2 separate regions of the Homo sapiens genome follow, and region 1 is linked to region 2. Evidence: promoter capture Hi-C in 16 types of primary human blood cells and fetal thymus (Javierre and others, 2016). All regions are on one chromosome and are shown on one strand. Each heading gives the region's core, a stretch centred on a gene start or on the middle of the fragment in contact. The rest is flanking DNA. Distances are from core to core; before and after follow the strand shown. Region 1 overlaps CHD8 (chromodomain helicase DNA binding protein 8). Region 2 holds the start of SALL2 (spalt like transcription factor 2).

Region 1 (6,589 bases), core at 33-2,532, 92 kb after region 2:
TGATTCTGGTCATTAGTTTGTAATTATGGAAAGTGACTAAGTACAACCACTAAGTTTTGTCTTTCCTTTTGAGCACATACATGTGTTTCTCTTTTGGGGACTGGTGGGCCAACACTGGCTTTTCATTCTTAATATGATAAAAGTTGGTGTGACTTCTTTATCTAGGCAGTTACTTTGCATTGAAACCAACTTAACATCTGTTCATTTTTGCTATTAGGGTTTGAATCAAGGAAAGAGAATTCATGAGATGGTTGAGAGGATTCATGAGATAGATGAGCTTGGTAGAATAAATAGGCCGTATGTGGATATAGCCAGGGTGACCCACAAGTAGTAGTAGAAGGAGGGTTAAAAAAAGTTAGATGTATGTTGGGAGAAGGTTTAATCTTGTAAGAGTCAAGGACAGTTTAAAGATAGGAACTAGAAAAGAAGTAGGAAACTAGCATAAAAATATGAGATGAATTGGGTCAGTATAGGTGAGAATGATGGGACTGAGAAGTAATGATACTTGGTGGCAAGGTTTTTGAATTATTAGGCATAGACCGAACTAGAAGAAGCAGAAATTTGGTTCGAAAATTGGGAAGGGAGAGATAAATGACAATGCATTGATCTTTAAAAAGCTTATACTAAGTCATATGGGGGTAAGGAGATTCATCAGAAACCATCAGCCTTGTTTCTCCTATTTAAAAAAAAAAAAATCTGGGCCTAAGATTGGATCATTATGGGGGAAAGGAAGAGCATTAGAATTAACAAATAGCAAGGAATCATGGAAGCGACAAAATACTCCATGGAATAAGGAGCAGGCTATAAACTATTTGCAACGTAAACTTCTGGTTAGTAGAAACTTTCAGCGTGGTGGCTCATGCCTATAATCCCAGCACTTTGGGAGGCTGAGGCGACGGCTCACCTCTGAAGTCGAGAGTCCGAGACCAGTCTGACTAACGTGGCGAAAACCTGTCTCTACTAAAAATACAAAATTAGCCGAGTGTGGTGGCGCAGGCCTGTAATCCCAGCTATTCGGGAGGCTGAGGCAGGAGAATCGCTTGAACCCAGGAGGTAGAGGTTGCGGTGAGCCGAGATCGCGCCATTGCACTCCAGCCTGGGCGACAAGAGTGAAACTCTGTCTCAGAAAAAAAAAAAAAAAAAAAAAGAAACTTTCACTGTTGTTTTTATATTACTCCTAGCTGTAGATACTTTAACTTCTGACGGTGAGTAGAGAATGAAAAATAATTGGTGCCAAAGTAGGTATACTGGAAAAAAGCTGATGATAATGGGAAGGAAATTTATTAATATCAAGTTATTGAGTAGGTTTTCGTTAAATCAGGAAGCATTCATAACTTTCCTGATTGCCATTTTGAGTAATTTGGAGGCAAATATTAGATATGAGAGGCTGGAATGAGCTGGTGGAATAGGCTAGCCAGGAATGGGAGATGGTATGGATCTTGGGTTGAGATATGAAAAGTATGCAATTACTGAAGCAAGGACGATCTTGTTTAACATTGTTGGAGATACCATGTATACTTTGTAATTTTGACTCACGTGTTTGTTCTCTTTGTCTGTTTTGGAGTATCTGATATATTAACCCATATTATATTGTTTTATAAGGATAAGTGAGATGGGTTGGGAAGGAAAAAACATAGCATGGGGGTTATATGGAAAAGTCTCCTTCAGTCAGGACTGTGCCTCTGACAAATTTCTTATCTGGTGTCTTCCAAAAGTTAGGAGAAATGGTCTTACCAAGCAAGACTTTCCTGTATTGTCAAATACTGTCATCATATACAAAGAACAGATATTTCTTTTTCATATATTTGGGTTTTATGGTGATATACTTCCCTGTCTTTGATAGCTTTTCTTTTTTCCACTAGTTTCATGAACTTAAAACCCTAGACATGGATTTTGTGAACCTACTTTCAGCCATTCATAAGACATGTTTTCAAGATAGGAAGCTTTTTACCATCTCATGTTAGAATCAAAGGATACCATTTAGTTTCTGTGAGGATCGAATGGTTTACTCCAGATAATGCGAGCAAGTATAATTCATTAACTGTTTTTTGATTAGCTACTATATGTGCTATGTCCTGCTGGTTCTTAGGGGATCCACAGATAAATAAAACATAGTCCCCACCATCCAAGAACTTTCTCCCAGAGAAAGAGGAGCTGGGCCATGGTACAGAGTTGTGGAGGGTGTACATTGCATACATTCATAACAAATTTTTATATATTTAGTATGGCAGTTTTCCAGGCATCTTGAGAAGTGGGCAACTTTTTACAATTTGCGCAAAGGAACCATTTGGGCCTTCAGAGGATATATTACAGACTTAGGTCATTATAATAAAATATTAAATATAAGTGTTTTAAGGTATAAACAATGGTGTGGGTATTTAAAGGAGGTGGAGGGATCAAGTCATCACAAGTTGCTCAGTTGTTAAAGCGTCAGAGGTTCAGGGCTCACTTAATGGAGTAGAAGACCTTTGAGGGTTGGTAGGATTTTAGCTGCGAGAGATTATTGGCATTGGGATGGAGAGGACGTGTTCCAGGCAGAAAGCACAGCATCATAAGCAAAGTCACACAGGTAGGAATCACATTAAGGGAATTGTGTAGTCTAGTTGGACTGGAATGTAAAATATATGTAAGAGATGGTAAGAGGAAGTTGGGAATATAAATTGGAAACAATGTTGAATCCCTTGCAATTGACCTTTTTTATCTTAAATATGAGAAAGTTTTCTTGAGAGGGGACTTCAGAACAAAAATCCCATTATAGATTAATATGTTAACTAGAATAAAGGTTGCAAAACTTCCTGGGTAAAATTGTATGATCACTTTGGTGAGATTGTACTATAAGCCTTGGTTAAAGGTGGTTATTTTTGCCAATAGTAAGTAAAAATATATAAAACACAAGAAAAATTTATACAATAGAATATATCCAGAAACCTTTATCTATAGAGTCACTGTAATTCTGGTGGCATATTTTTGAGTTCTACTAACTTAAAAACTGAAAATAGAAGGTAAATGAATATTAAATTTTATCTTTACCAAAGAATAATAATTGTTAAAAGAAACGGAGAAAGACAGCCAAATGCTCTTGACAGAGTCTTTAAAGTTTGTAGGTGTAAGTGCCCAAGAGGAGGTTGTTATTGTTTTTCTCTTTTAGTTTTAGTTTTGAAGCAGAAATATGAGTGTCTTTCTGCTGTATGTCCGTCCTCAGATTTCCTCACATTTCCCTCTTATATTCATGCTATTTGATATTAAGAACAGTACGTAAGAAGGGAAAATTTTCTCTGAGATCGCCAACTTTGCCTATTTTTCATTTGTATTTGTATTCCTACAACAGGAGTTCCACCATCTTCCTCTGAAGACGTAGCCATCTTGCTCCATGAAGGTCAGGACAATCTGACATGCACTTGTTTCTTGCCTCTATACTTGAAGAGTAGTCCTCTTACATTGTGTACATTTTTTTCTTAATAGGGGAGGGGAGGGGAGAGCCAGTACCCCCCCTCCCCTTCCCTCCCTAGACCTTGGAGAAGTACCCTCCATTACTTTCCCAAGATGGCAGACCCCATCATGGATCTGTTCGATGACCCAAATTTATTTGGCCTGGACTCTCTGACTGATGACAGCTTTAACCAGGTCACACAAGACCCCATTGAGGAAGCCCTTGGACTGCCAAGCTCTCTGGACTCCTTGGATCAGATGAACCAGGATGGTGGAGGTGGTGATGTGGGGAATTCATCAGCAAGTGAACTGGTCCCTCCACCAGAGGAAACAGCTCCCACAGAACTTTCCAAAGAATCCACAGCTCCAGCTCCAGAATCCATAACCTTGCATGATTATACCACTCAGCCTGCCAGCCAGGAGCAGCCAGCCCAACCTGTCTTACAGACATCGACGCCAACATCAGGACTTTTGCAAGTCTCCAAGAGCCAGGAGATCCTGAGCCAAGGGAATCCTTTCATGGGTGTCTCTGCCACAGCTGTCTCCTCCAGTAGTGCTGGAGGGCAGCCACCTCAGTCAGCCCCTAAGATTGTTATCCTTAAGGCCCCACCAAGCTCCTCAGTCACTGGTGCCCATGTGGCACAAATTCAGGCCCAAGGTATCACCAGCACAGCTCAGCCCCTGGTGGCAGGCACAGCCAATGGTGGAAAAGTCACTTTTACCAAAGTGCTAACCGGCACACCCCTTCGACCAGGTGTTTCCATTGTCTCTGGTAATACAGTGTTGGCCGCCAAGGTCCCTGGGAACCAGGCTGCTGTTCAGCGCATTGTCCAGCCCAGCCGACCAGTAAAGCAGCTGGTCCTCCAGCCAGTTAAGGGTTCAGCTCCTGCTGGAAACCCTGGGGCCACAGGGCCCCCACTGAAGCCTGCAGTTACACTGACCTCTACACCTACCCAGGTGACTTGAGTGAAAGGGGGAGGTGAATTTTGGTTTCATAGAGGGCCCAGCAACTCTTTGAGAGAGTGAGCACATGAGAGCTTTCTCTGGGAAAGCCTATTTAAATTCCATCTTTGGTTTTTATCAGTTAGTGTGACAGCCACATACTTAGTACTTGCTGGTTGGAAGCAGTTAATGTTAACATATTTTTTGAGCTCTTACTACACATTTACATTGTACCTAGCTGGTGCTAAATAAGGCAAACACAGTCCCTGTCCTTACAGAGCTCACCGTCTGCCAGGAAAGACAGATATTAAGCAAGAGTTCACAATAATTGTGTGATACAAAGTTTTATGAGAAGTATGGGATGCTATGGGAACAAAGAAACATCTTTGAAGAATTATCTTTATATTTGCAAGACTTGTAAAAGCTATTTATATCTTTCTTTTATTCTTATTACTAAGATTGTCCCCCTCCTACTTTGCTCAGTGAAAGTGTTAGTTTCTAGCGTAAGAAGGTAGAGGCTCTAGCATCTGAATAAAGGGCCAAAAGAGTTGGTGGGGGTGGGGGCGCAGCATTGAGATAATTAGGACTAGCCAGGCACAATGTCTCTCACCTGTGATCCCAGCTACTCAGGAGGCTGAGGCAGGAGGATTGCTTGAGGCCAGAAGTTCAAGACCAGCCTGGGCAACATAGTGAGACCCTTGTCTCTAAAAAAAGTAGGACTAGTGGGAAGAAGCTACAAGGAGGCAGATTTCAATTCAATATAAGGAATTTTGTATTATTAGGTTTCCAAAAATGAACTGCTGCATTAGAAGATAGCCTTCCATCAGGAGTTTTTAAAACATAGCTTGATACCTACTGAGCAGAAGCATTATAGAAAAGATTCTATCAGGACAGCTGATAGTCCCAGCACTTTGGGAGGCTGAGGCCAGAGGATCGCTTGAGGCCAGGAGTTCGAGACCAGCCTGGGAAACATAGACCTCATCTCTACAAAAAAGCAAAATAAAAATTAGCTGGGCATGGTGGCATGCACCTATAGTACCAGCTACTCAGGAGGCTGAAGCGGGAGGATCACTTGAGCCTAGGAGTTCTGGGCTGTGGTGTGCTATGCCAATCAGGTGTCTGCACTAAGTTTGACATCAATATGGTGACCTCCCAGGAGCAAGGGACCACCAGGTTGCCTAAGGAGGGATGAATTGGCCCAGGTTGGAAACGGAGCAGGGCAGCACTCCCTTGCTGATCAGCAGTAGTGTTGTGCCTGTGAATAGCCACTGCACTCTAGCCTGGGCAATACAGCGAGACCCTGTCTAAAAATAACAAAAAAGATTGCATCAAGACAGATAGGATGATGAACAAAGTGAGTTGTACTGTGTCTTCTGACCTGTAGTTTTTATGATTCTAGCATGAAGAAAACTGGTGTAAATATTTCAGAGTATACCATTCTTTAATGTTGTACTCTTGCAATTTCCTTTCTTCACTTTAGGGTGAATCGAAACGCATCACCCTGGTCCTCCAGCAGCCACAGTCTGGAGGTCCCCAAGGACATCGGCATGTTGTGCTAGGGAGTCTACCAGGCAAGATAGTGTTACAGGGCAACCAGCTGGCAGCCCTGACTCAAGCCAAGAATGCCCAAGGGCAGCCTGCCAAGGTAGTAACTATCCAGCTGCAGGTGCAGCAGCCACAGCAAAAAATCCAGATTGTACCACAACCACCATCATCGCAGCCACAGCCCCAGCAGCCACCCTCCACCCAGCCAGTGACTCTGTCCTCTGTACAGCAGGCTCAGATAATGGGACCAGGACAAAGCCCAGGACAAAGACTTTCAGTACCAGTCAAGGTGGTACTGCAGCCACAGGTGAGAGACTTACATAGTAAGGAAAAGAAAGAAAACAAAAATACTTAGTCCATTGCTGTTGCCCTCAGCAACCACTTATTCTTGAATGTGGGGCCATTCTAGATTTATATCTCTGAACTGAGGTGCAGACTTAATTCTTTCATTCATGGAAACCTTATTTTAATTATATTATTAAAAGATTAGAGAGGGATTGTTGGGTTTGGGATATGAGATTATTTAGTATTTATCTTTGAATTGTTTTATTTATAATCTTTTCCTAATATTATTGTGAAATAAAAATGATTTGTGATATCCTTTAAATGATAGTTCAGAAATGACTTGAAGAAATAAGTGATCAGTCCTCCCCTCTCCCCGCCCAGGCAGATA
Region 2 (6,140 bases), core at 1,296-3,795:
AATTAACAAATGCTCAGTAGAAAGCCTCCATCTGATTCCCTCTCCCTGACTAAGGCCAGGGAGCAAATGGCAGGTAGAAGCCACACAGGGCCCTTTCTCTAGCATTAGGGAAGCCATACAAAGTTGATGTGCTTGAGAAAGCATTGGACAGGAGTCAAAATTCTGAATGCTTGCTTCACTGAATTACTGTGTGAACTTGGAAAAGTCACTTAACCTCTCCAAGCTTCAGTTTCCTTATCTGTAAAAATAAACCACATTGCACAAAACTGTGACTTGCCATAAACTGAAATAGAACCCCCCTCCCTCATTTGTAAGTCCAGGCCTGGAAGCACAGAACCCGTCCATTTCAGAATTATGACTCACAATGCTAAGAGCCTTATTATCTGAAGTTTCAAAACATAATTCAGTAAACTGTTTTAAGTTTAAAAACACAGGCAAAATTTATGTTGAGAAGTAAAGTGGATGTTACTAATATTTTAAATAGGTTGTTTCAGCTCCCCCACCCACTGCAATAAAAGACTTCCTACCTTTGAAATATGCTGCTGATATTAGCCAATATCTTACCTCAGAAATTAATAAGATTAACAAACAACATGGAAAACAGATCTAATTTTAGTATATGTGTATTTAAGGTTACTTCGATTATTTTGCTACTGACAATGTAAATTATCTCATTGATTAAATTCAGGACTCCCCAAACTTTAAAAATCTCACATGTACATATTAATTTTTTTAGACTTTTTTTTTTTTTTGAGACGCAGTTTCACTCTTGTTGCCCAGGCTGGAGTGCAATGCCACGATCTCAGCCCCCTGCAACCTCCACCTCCTGGGTTCAAGCCATTCTCCTGGCTCAGCTGCCCCAGTAGCTGGGATTAAAGGTGTACCATCATGCCCAGCTAATTTTTGTATTTTTAGTAGAGACGGGGTTTCAACATGTTGGCCATGCTGGTCTGGAACTTCTGACCTCGTGATCTGCCCACCTCCCAAAGTGCTGGGATTACAGTGAGCCACCGCGCCCGGCTTTTTTTTTTTTTTAAAGTAATGGGGCCTCACTATGTTGCCGAAGCTGGAGGGCAGTGGTTATTCACAGGTGTGATCACAGCTCACTGCAGCCTCAAACTCCTGGACTAAAGCAATTCTCCTGCCTCAGCCTCCCAAGTAGCTGGGGCTACAAGTGTGCACCACCATACCTGGTTTACACATTAATATTGTCCAATTTTTCAATTTTTTGTCCCCACAATATTTTTCTGAGTAAAATACTGCAGCTACAATATTACCACTTTATGAAGAGGGAAACGGTGGTATAACATGGTGTGACTGACCACCATGTCTCAGTTTTATCAGTGAGGCAAGAATAGAACTGGGATTAAAACAATTTAGGTTTACTGATGCCCAGGGAAACCACAAAACCAAGGACTTGTGGTCACTTCCTGCATGTAAGAGAAAGTATTTTAGGAAGTGGGAAGCACTTTAAGACTCATTTCAAGGTAAAAAAGAGAATGCCAGAATACCTGGTCCAGGAGGCATTTTATTCTTACTTATCCTGTCTGAATAGGAGGCTGCCTCTGTGATGGTGAGCAGGTGTTAGCTATTTCTAAGCATTCAAATCAGGCTGGGGCTGAAAGGGCTTTAGACACTGAGGGCTGCCTGGTAGTTCCTACCGCATTGTTTCAAGAGGGCTCCCCTCCCCCCCAGGTTAGAGCTGGGTGGGCCTCCGTAGGCCTCTGCAGGCTAGCGTCTCCCCAAACCCACTGTCTTTAATAGTGACGGTGTGAGGAATGTTGCAAGAGGAGAATAGAGGAGGAAGAGGGTACTAAATAGGAGATGGCTTATTAAATAAGCATGGACTCTATGAATTAGGTGTTGTGTAGGCTGGGCGATCTGCGGAGTAACCTGCATTCAGCTATTATTCAGGGGGAGGAGGGGCGGGGAGTGAAGGGGCTTAGTGTTCCGCAGAGAGTCCTGAAATGACTTCCTGGGAAATTCTACCTTGCAGCCGCCCACCCTGAGAAACTTCTTTTGTGGAGAGGGATGGGGGTAGGGTGGGAATGGAAGTGAGAAAGACGAGACAAAACTTCGAATATTTTGGGGTGTGTGTGCTGGTGAGGAGTGGATGTTCTGATCTCCCCCTCTTCTTCTGGCCCTCAGACCTCTGAGGAGATCAGACGACCCTCTCTGGAATCCACTTTTTCCAAGCTCAGCGGATCCTTTATCCAAAGAAAAATAAGAGAAGCCTATCGCCTTGCTCCACTGAGCAGGGCTACGTTTCCCACTGTGCCCCTAGAGCTTAGGAGGGGAGGGCGGGGGGAGGAGGGTAGGCCTGGGCAAAGGCATCTGCAGATGGGGGGAGCTGGCCAGGGACCGGGAAAGGTGGACCCCCGCAGTGCTTCACAGCACCTGTCACTGCGCCTCCGGAAACTCTCCCGAGCTCTGAGCTCCCGCCCCCACGCCCCCGCTAGCGCTCCCTTCTCCCGCCTCCTCTAGCTCCCGCCTCCCTCCCCAGCAGCTCCTCCCCATAAACTCCCCTCCTCATCAGCTCCTCCCAGATCTCCCCTCTCCCCGCTTTCTCACTCCAGCTTCTCCCCGCCTCCTCGCTCCCCTCCCCCTCCGCCGCTGCTCCCTGCCCCCGCCGCTGCCGATCTCCATCTCCGCAGTCTGGGCCGCTGGGTGCAGAGGCTGCCGCAGACCCAGCGGCCATCGCCTCCCTCAATCCCAATATCCATTGTCTCCCACCCCACCTGGCCCTCCACTTCCCCCACAACCATGGCGCACGAATCCGAGAGGAGCTCTCGTCTCGGGGTGCCCTGCGGGGAGCCGGCAGAGCTCGGAGGTGCGGTAGGGTCGGTCGGGCTGGGCAGGGGTGGGGGCGGAGGGGGATGCGCAGGGGCGGCGAAGACTTTCGGTGGGTGGGAGAAAATGCATGATTCTCTGCGTAGGCCCCTGTCCCCACACCTATTCCGTGAACTCGCTTGTGGCCTGGGGAAGGGAGGGTGGCTGAGGAGGGGAGTAGCATGCTCTTGCCCCCCTCCCCTCCTCCCTCCCCACCCCCCTGCCCCATGCCGGGTTGTCTCCTGTCCACACGGATCAGGCCTGAGCTCTAGACTTCTGCATGGCCCTGATGGTGAGCTCATCTCCCCACCCCCAACTAGCGGTTACTGGCCTCCTTGTTAATTAGAGCCTCGGTATACCCAACCCAACTGCGCCACCCACGCTCTCTCTCCTTGTCTTCTCCCCAGGTGATGCTAGCGAGGAGGATCACCCCCAAGTCTGTGCCAAGTGCTGCGCACAATTCACTGACCCAACTGAATTCCTCGCCCACCAGAACGCATGTTCTACTGACCCTCCTGTAATGGTGATAATTGGGGGCCAGGAGAACCCCAACAACTCTTCGGCCTCCTCTGAACCCCGGCCTGAGGGTCACAATAATCCTCAGGTCATGGACACAGAGCATAGCAACCCCCCAGATTCTGGGTCCTCCGTGCCCACGGATCCCACCTGGGGCCCAGAGAGGAGAGGAGAGGAGTCTTCAGGGCATTTCCTGGTCGCTGCCACAGGTACAGCGGCTGGGGGAGGCGGGGGCCTGATCTTGGCCAGTCCCAAGCTGGGAGCAACCCCATTACCTCCAGAATCGACCCCTGCACCCCCTCCTCCTCCACCACCCCCTCCGCCCCCAGGGGTAGGCAGTGGCCACTTGAATATCCCCCTGATCTTGGAAGAGCTACGGGTGCTGCAGCAGCGGCAGATCCATCAGATGCAGATGACTGAGCAAATCTGCAGGCAGGTGCTGTTGCTTGGCTCCTTAGGCCAGACGGTGGGTGCCCCTGCCAGTCCCTCAGAGCTACCTGGGACAGGGACTGCCTCTTCCACCAAGCCCCTACTACCCCTCTTCAGCCCCATCAAGCCTGTCCAAACCAGCAAGACACTGGCATCTTCCTCCTCCTCCTCCTCTTCCTCTTCAGGGGCAGAAACGCCCAAGCAGGCCTTCTTCCACCTTTACCACCCACTGGGGTCACAGCATCCTTTCTCTGCTGGAGGGGTTGGGCGAAGCCACAAACCCACCCCTGCCCCTTCCCCAGCCTTGCCAGGCAGCACAGATCAGCTGATTGCCTCGCCTCATCTGGCATTCCCAAGCACCACGGGACTACTGGCAGCACAGTGTCTTGGGGCAGCCCGAGGCCTTGAGGCCACTGCCTCCCCAGGGCTCCTGAAGCCAAAGAATGGAAGTGGTGAGCTGAGCTACGGAGAAGTGATGGGTCCCTTGGAGAAGCCTGGTGGAAGGCACAAATGCCGCTTCTGTGCCAAAGTATTTGGCAGTGACAGTGCCCTGCAGATCCACCTTCGTTCCCACACGGGTGAGAGGCCCTATAAGTGCAATGTCTGTGGAAACCGTTTTACCACCCGTGGCAACCTCAAAGTGCATTTCCACCGGCATCGTGAGAAGTACCCACATGTGCAGATGAACCCACACCCAGTACCAGAGCACCTAGACTATGTCATTACCAGCAGTGGCTTGCCTTATGGTATGTCCGTGCCACCAGAGAAGGCCGAGGAGGAGGCAGCCACTCCAGGTGGAGGGGTTGAGCGCAAGCCTCTGGTGGCCTCCACAACAGCACTCAGTGCCACAGAGAGCCTGACTCTGCTCTCCACCAGTGCAGGCACAGCCACGGCTCCAGGACTCCCTGCTTTCAATAAGTTTGTGCTCATGAAAGCAGTGGAACCCAAGAATAAAGCTGATGAAAACACCCCCCCAGGGAGTGAGGGCTCAGCCATCAGTGGAGTGGCAGAAAGTAGCACGGCAACTCGCATGCAACTAAGTAAGTTGGTGACTTCACTACCAAGCTGGGCACTGCTTACCAACCACTTCAAGTCCACTGGCAGCTTCCCCTTCCCCTATGTGCTAGAGCCCTTGGGGGCCTCACCCTCTGAGACATCAAAGCTGCAGCAACTGGTAGAAAAGATTGACCGGCAAGGAGCTGTGGCGGTGACCTCAGCTGCCTCAGGAGCCCCCACCACCTCTGCCCCTGCACCTTCATCCTCAGCCTCTTCTGGACCTAACCAGTGTGTCATCTGTCTCCGAGTGCTTAGCTGTCCTCGGGCCCTACGCCTTCATTATGGCCAACATGGAGGTGAGAGGCCCTTCAAATGCAAAGTGTGTGGCAGAGCCTTCTCCACCAGGGGTAATCTGCGTGCACATTTCGTGGGCCACAAGGCCAGTCCAGCTGCCCGGGCACAGAATTCCTGCCCCATCTGCCAGAAGAAGTTCACCAATGCTGTCACTCTGCAGCAGCATGTCCGGATGCACCTGGGGGGCCAGATCCCCAACGGTGGTACTGCACTCCCTGAAGGTGGAGGAGCTGCTCAGGAGAATGGCTCCGAGCAATCTACAGTCTCCGGGGCACGGAGTTTCCCCCAGCAGCAGTCCCAGCAGCCATCACCGGAAGAGGAGTTGTCTGAGGAGGAGGAAGAGGAGGATGAGGAAGAAGAGGAAGATGTGACTGATGAAGATTCCCTGGCAGGGAGAGGCTCAGAGAGTGGAGGTGAGAAGGCAATATCAGTGAGAGGTGATTCAGAAGAGGCATCTGGGGCAGAGGAGGAGGTGGGGACAGTGGCGGCAGCAGCCACAGCTGGGAAGGAGATGGACAGTAATGAGAAAACTACTCAACAGTCTTCTTTGCCACCACCACCACCACCTGACAGCCTGGATCAGCCTCAGCCAATGGAGCAGGGAAGCAGTGGTGTTTTAGGAGGCAAGGAAGAGGGGGGCAAACCGGAGAGAAGCTCAAGTCCGGCATCAGCACTCACCCCAGAAGGGGAAGCCACCAGCGTGACCTTGGTAGAGGAGCTGAGCCTGCAGGAGGCAATGAGAAAGGAGCCAGGAGAGAGCAGCAGCAGAAAGGCCTGCGAAGTGTGTGGCCAGGCCTTTCCCTCCCAGGCAGCTCTGGAGGAGCATCAGAAGACCCACCCCAAGGAGGGGCCGCTCTTCACTTGTGTTTTCTGCAGGCAGGGCTTTCTTGAGCGGGCTACCCTCAAGAAGCATATGCTCCTGGCACACCACCAGGTACAGCCCTTTGCCCCCCATGGCCCTCAGAATATTGCTGCTCTTTCTCTAGTCCCTGGCTGTTCGCCTTCCATCACCTCCA

What was found. The method cuts DNA at HindIII sites, captures the fragments that hold promoters and counts their contacts. A CHiCAGO score of 5 or more calls a contact.
Region 1: a contact is called between a fragment that was not itself captured here and the fragment with the promoter of SALL2 in region 2, in 1 of 17 cell types (fetal thymus). The highest score is 5.2, in fetal thymus.

What each region holds. Positions count from the first base shown.
Region 1 is chr14:21,428,598-21,435,186 of GRCh38, reverse strand. CHD8 (chromodomain helicase DNA binding protein 8) reads left to right here. Exons shown (of 38, transcript NM_001170629.2): 2 at 3,329-4,386; 3 at 5,852-6,223. The coding sequence starts at 3,544. It also overlaps the pseudogene RN7SL650P. Among named protein-coding and RNA genes, the nearest start is that of CHD8, 24 kb to the left of the region's middle. The HindIII fragment of the contact is 1,326 bases long and covers 620-1,945 here.
Region 2 is chr14:21,522,751-21,528,890 of GRCh38, reverse strand. SALL2 (spalt like transcription factor 2) reads left to right here and starts at 2,545. Exons shown (of 2, transcript NM_001364564.1): 1 at 2,545-2,830; 2 at 3,237-6,140. The coding sequence starts at 2,764. RefSeq lists enhancers at 1,299-2,126, 2,127-2,954, 3,785-4,612 and silencers at 2,608-2,667, 5,128-5,314. The HindIII fragment of the contact is 14,095 bases long and covers 226-6,140 here.